Linked DNA regions of Homo sapiens: region 1 is linked to region 2. The links are contacts of gene promoters, found by promoter capture Hi-C in human tissues and cell types (Jung and others, 2019). All regions are on one chromosome and are shown on one strand. The core of a region is centred on a gene start or on the middle of the fragment in contact, and the rest is flanking DNA. Distances in the headings are between cores, read along the strand shown.

Region 1 (2,904 bases), core at 394-2,893, 210 kb before region 2:
TTCAGGTGATCCACCCGCCTCGGCCTCCCAAAGTGCTGGGATTACTGGTGTGAACCACCACACCCGCTGCACCATTTTACATCCCCACCAACAATGCAGAGTGAACTTTTAAAGAAAGACCTCAGCACTGTTGACATTTTGGGCTCAATACGTGTTTGTTGTTTAGTACCATCACCGTCCTCTACCCACTGGATTCCAGTAGCACCTTCCCCCTTCCTAATTGTGACAGCCGAAAATGTCTCCAGGCATTGCCAAATGTTCCCTGGGGGCCCCTGGTTGAGAACCACTGAATTTAATCATAGCTCTCCCCAGCTTAAGCCTCCCATTGCCCTGAACATCCAAACCGTCTCATAGCTGACAAAGTCCTCGAGACTTCTTGGACCTCATCTCCTTCCACCTTCCAGGCACTTACTGGGTATTGGCCACAGTGACTACTTCTAATCTCTCAGACACAACAAACAAGGTTGTTCCTACCTCAGGGCCTTTGCAGTTGCTGCTCCCATCACCTAAACATCACTCCCGGGTTTCTGCATGGCCAGCAACTCCTTACCATTCACACCTCAATTCATATGCCACCTCCTCAGGGAGGCGTTCTGCGATCACCCAATCCCAGCAGCCACTCTCCCAACTGAGTCAGCCACAGTGTCTTGATGTTAAAGACTTTAAGAAATATATAAGTCATAGAATTTTTTAGAGAAGACAATGTTGTGGTCATTTTATTCGATGTCTTTATCACCATCTATGATGTTCATTTTTTTGCTGTTTTTTGTTTTGTTTTTTTGGAGATGGGGTCTCACCATGTTGCCCAGGCTGGAGTGCAGTGGCTATTCACAGGCATGATCACAGCTCACTACAGCCCTGACTCCAGAACTCATTCCTCCAACCTCTCCTCTCACCTCAGCTTCCTGAGTAGCTGGGACTACAGGCACATGCCACTGTACCCAGCCATGTTCACATTTTTATTATTTATGGAATAAAAATATAATTTATTGCCCAAATTAGGACATTTTGGGAATGAAGGGTCATGCTAAGAATGGTTAACAGGTGTTAATAATCCCAGGAAAACCAGGGACCTACTGTCACTAATTATCCATCTCCAGGCTAGGACGTGGGCTCCTGGAGAGCAGGGAGTTGGTCTGTTTTGTTCATCGTGTATCCCCAGCACCTACAATAGTAACTGACATGCTGTAGAGCTCAGTAAATATTGATGAAAATATGGCAAAACTTTCTGACTTCAATTACTTCAACTATAAAAATGGGTGTAATAACTATGACAACCTAGAAACTGTTGTGAGGACTAAATGATTATCACAAATGTGCCAGCTGAGCCTCAATAGAGTGCTTATTTCCTTCTGTGCTATTGCCATGGAGAAGTAAAGAGCTGGGCTGGTCATAGTGGCTCACACCTGTAATCCCAGAACTTTGGGAGGCCAAGGTGGGCGGATCAGTTGAGTCCAGAAGCTTGAGACCAGCCTGGGCTACATGGCGAGAATCTGTCTCTACAAAAAATTAACCAGGCATTGTGGCACATGCCTGTAGTCCCAGCTACTTGGGAGGCTGAGGTGGGAGGACCATCACATGAGCCTGGGAGGTCAAGGCTGCAGTGAGCCATGATCATACCATTGCACTCCAGCCTGGGTGAGAAAGCGAGATCTTGTCTCAAAAAAAAAAAAAAAAAGGAAAGAAAGGAAGAAAAAAGAGGAGAACTTAACCCCTGGAAGTGGAATTCCAGAACTGATGTGGTGGTCTAGTCCAGATTCACTATCCCAGCCCAATATGAGACGCGCCTGGGTGTGTTTATAAAAATACCAGTGCCCAGGCTCTCTCGGCCAAGAGAAATGGCAGCTCTGGAGGTGAGGCTTGGGCAGGCTGATAGTTTTTAAAGTTTCCTGGGGGATTCAGACACACAAGGAGGGCTGAGGCCTCTGGATTAGGTTAAATCTACAAATTCACAAAAGAGGAATCAGGCCCAGAAAGGGGGCCTGCCCCCACAGTCACACACTCCACATGGAAGAATCTGCACTGGATCCCACATCTCCTGGCTCCTAGTCAGTCCACTAGGAGGCAAGAGACCCACTCTATCAGATGCCTTCTCCCGGCGGTTAACTTTTCAGCTTTGGAAAGATCCCGGGGACATTCTATGGTAGGACCCAGGCTTGCTGAGGAGCCCCAGTCTTCATCTGCAGGAGCAATGAGCCAAGTACAAAGCCAGGTTAAGCATCTTGTCGGATGGCCCTGATCATCGTGCCCCTCCCAGCTCTCAGCATGGGGGCTGTGGTAGACAGCCTCCATCTGCCCCTGCAGACCCAGCCTCCAGATTCCCTCTGCACCCTCTCCACCTCCTCTATGCCCAAGGAGGCTGGCCTCTGAGCTCTGCATCACCCATGTTCCTCTGCCTTCTAATTCAGTTCAGCCAATGGGTGAGAGGAAAGTGGAAATGACGCTGGATTCTGGGAGGAAGACCTAGTCAGGTGACTCCAACACCCCAGCTGACTATTTCACACAGTCAGTACATAGTAAATATCCTTCCTTTCTGACTCATGACAAGACGAGGGTAAAATCTGTCCAATGCTTGCAGGAGGAAATGGAAATTAGCCTATATTTATAGCACAGCACTGACACAGAAGAATCATTTAGTAAAACAGAACAACAAAAATAAAAATCAGCTTTGTTCTCCGTTCCCTATGTTTGTTGTTCTTGTGAATTATATTTTTCTTCTCTGGTACAGGGCCACCTTCATTTTCCTTTTTCTAATTTTGTTTACTTTAAGAAACCATTCGCAGGCCGGGCGCAGTGGCTCACACCTGTAATCCCAGCACTTTGGGAGGCCAAGGCAGGTGGATCACCTGAGGCCAGGAGTTCAAGACCAGCCTGGCCAATGTGGTGAAACCCCGTCTCTACTAA
Region 2 (2,788 bases), core at 264-2,763:
AAATCAAAGATGCCTGAAGTTGTGAGTTTCAGGTAGCCCTGAGTTTATAATCCTAGTTCTGACTCGTACTATCTTTGGATATACTAGCTGCTGACTACTAACTGAACAAGGTAGTAACCTTGTCATCTTGTAACTTACCTAAGTCTGTTTCCTCCTCTATAAAACAAACTATCAAAATAAAGCCGATGAAAAGATTGAAGTAAAACATAAAACCCTTAGCACAGTGCCTAGTATCCATTAAGCAGTAGATAAATGATGGCGGTCATTATTAGGGAGTAGGGTAAAGAACAGAAGGTTAAAAACATGAGTAGCAGTAAGGACTTTTGGGTGGGGATTCGGTCTTTCTACTACACATTACACATACCTCTAAGCAGAGAAAGGGGTTGGAGGGGAGTTTGATAATGTGACTAATAATCCTCCTCCCCCTGGGGGGGATCTTGATAAAGGATAGCCACCCACATGGAGGCCTAATATAAACTGGATTGCAGAATGCACTTGAGCTGGGAGCCCAAGCGGGCCAGGCTTCTTGATTCCTATTTTATCCCCTTTAACCTAGGATAGCTAGGTCTATAGTGCAGACTCAGACCTAACTTACACTTTCATTTGCAGCTGAAGTTTCGGAACAAAGACAAAGATAGCCAGATCATATTAATTACACGGATAGGCAAGAAAGCATGAGCCCTGAGGAGGAAGGAAGGGACTGTCCAGGTGTACTTACCTCAAAGATGAGAAATATCAAAGACAGGAAACCCTAGGTTCTTGCCCTTCAGTCGCTATCTCCTTGCCATTAGTAAAATGCGGCCGATGAATGTCCTCACTTCTGTCCATCTGGGCAGGAGGTGGGAAGGGTGACGTGCAAATGGATGGGAGGAACCCTTTTTTCGGCAGCACCCACCACACCCAGCCTAGTGCCACGCACCGCAAGCGCTCCATAAACGCACACAGCGTCGCCTCTACCAGGATCCCGGGCGGCCTTCGCGGGATTTCTCCTGGCGTCGGCTTTCAGACTCCCGAGGGTGGGATAAATCGAGAGGGTGGCATCCTTTGGCTTTTCTTCTCCCAGGCAGCTCTGAACCATGTTTATGCAACGTTTAATGGGCTCTAATAAAACGGCTAATAATTTTGATCCGCGGAAGCACCGACTCGCTCGCTAAGCCGAATCTGCGAGGGTGAAGCTGCAACTCCAACGCCGGAAAGCGCGGCTACCGAAAAGCGCATGCGCCACGGGGTGGCACGAAGCTAGAGTAAGCTGAGGAGGTGGGCGGAAACCATGGCAACCATGGGTGATGACGACATGGGGAGCGTCTCTAGCGCTGGATTATGACGCTGGATTATGACGCAGGCAGTGGGCGCGGACTCTGCGGTTCGCTTGACTGACGGCGCAGCCTCCGGGCCTAGCCACAGCAGCAACGGCAGAGGCCAGCGGGCGAGGTCAAGATGGTGGCTCCGCGGGCGGGGGAGGCAGTGGAGGGAGGAGGAGTCAGACCTTAGCCAGCCGGAAACACCGAAACCCAGAGACCTCCTGGGGAGCCGCCGCCGCCGCCCTCTCGGCCATCGCTGCCTCCGCCGCCTGCTCCACCTCGAGGGACGCGAGCGGGCGGCGGGGCTGGCCGTGAGAGAGACAGGAGAGGAAGGAGGGCAGGGGCGGAGTTGCCCGCCTTAGCCCCCGCCCCCGGCCGCGGCCCCGGGCCCTGCCCCGCGCGGCCCTGCCCGGCCCACCGAGCCCTGGTGTGGCAGCGGCTCATGGCGGCCGTGGGGCCCCCGCAGCAGCAGGTGCGGATGGCCCATCAGCAGGTCTGGGCGGCGCTCGAAGTGGCGCTCCGGGTGCCCTGCCTTTACATCATCGACGCCATCTTCAACTCCTACCCGGATTCCAGCCAAAGCCGGTTCTGCATCGTGCTCCAGATCTTCCTCCGGCTCTTTGGTAAGGGAACAGGGTACCGTACGTCCCGGGACGGCTATGCGGGCCGAGACGTTCCCCGGGGAGCGGGCAGGCGCGCAGAGGCCATGGGTCGAGTATGTGTCTTTGGGAACTACAGTTTCATCCCTCAAAGGGTCGTCTTTACGGGTTGGGAGGGGGAAGGAGATGATACTTGTCTGAGTTGACAGCGGAGCAGTCCCCCTAGCGAGGATTCAGTGTTGTACCTGAGTGAGGTGGGGAGAAAGTAAGGATGTGTGAGCATGCAGCTCTTTGCCCGTTTGCCTTGGGAAATGAGTACTGGCTTACCGCGTCCTATGCGACAGCCTTCGAAAAACAACTCTGCTATCCCAGTCTCGTCGTGTGTGACCTTGGACTTCTGCCAAGGCGTGGGCCTCAGTTTCCCTTTATTACCAAATGCCGAGTACTTGTATGTTGTCACTTCTGCTGCACCCGAGGGTCCACAGGATCGTGAAGTGTCTGCAGTAAATGACATCCAAGCGAAGGAGACAGGGTTTTGAATGTCAGACCTTGAAACCATTACCAAAAATTCTCATGAAAGCGGCGATGCTTAAATCGAGTCCTAAAATTTTCCATGAATAAACGAGAAGGTATTGAAAGTGACTGTAAAAAGTGATGAGACATTTGCCAAAGAGACTTCTGAAAATCATTGTCTTTGTTTCGTATGGATGGAGTGTTAAAAGTATCTTATATTTCATTTCTTCCTTTCCATCTTCACTTACATCATCAGAGGGAGATGCATTTATGCGTAAAATAATTTTTTAAGTAATTGTAACTTGGCAAATTTTGTTGATGAGGTAATTCTGGTGATCGGTCTTAAGTAGGCTAGTGCTTTTGAAGTGTTGCTGA

Evidence for each region. The method cuts DNA at HindIII sites, captures the fragments that hold promoters and counts their contacts. A contact is called where the count stands out against the background at its distance.
Region 1: a fragment that was not itself captured here is called in contact with the fragment with the promoter of RNF139 in region 2 in 1 of the 25 tissues and cell types used here (mesenchymal stem cells).

The regions. Positions count from the first base shown.
Region 1 is chr8:124,264,790-124,267,693 of GRCh38, forward strand. No RefSeq gene overlaps it. Among named protein-coding and RNA genes, the nearest start is that of FER1L6-AS2, 95 kb to the left of the region's middle. The HindIII fragment of the contact is 3,784 bases long and covers 1-2,904 here.
Region 2 is chr8:124,473,367-124,476,154 of GRCh38, forward strand. RNF139 (ring finger protein 139) reads left to right here and starts at 1,514. Exons shown (of 2, transcript NM_007218.4): 1 at 1,514-1,924. The coding sequence starts at 1,744. It overlaps RNF139-DT (RNF139 divergent transcript), which reads right to left and starts at 1,197. Exons shown (of 2, transcript NR_108047.1): 1 at 719-1,197. RefSeq lists enhancers at 602-791, 879-1,423, 1,132-1,461, 1,424-1,969, 1,970-2,513 and a silencer at 1,482-1,791. The HindIII fragment of the contact is 10,823 bases long and covers 1-2,788 here.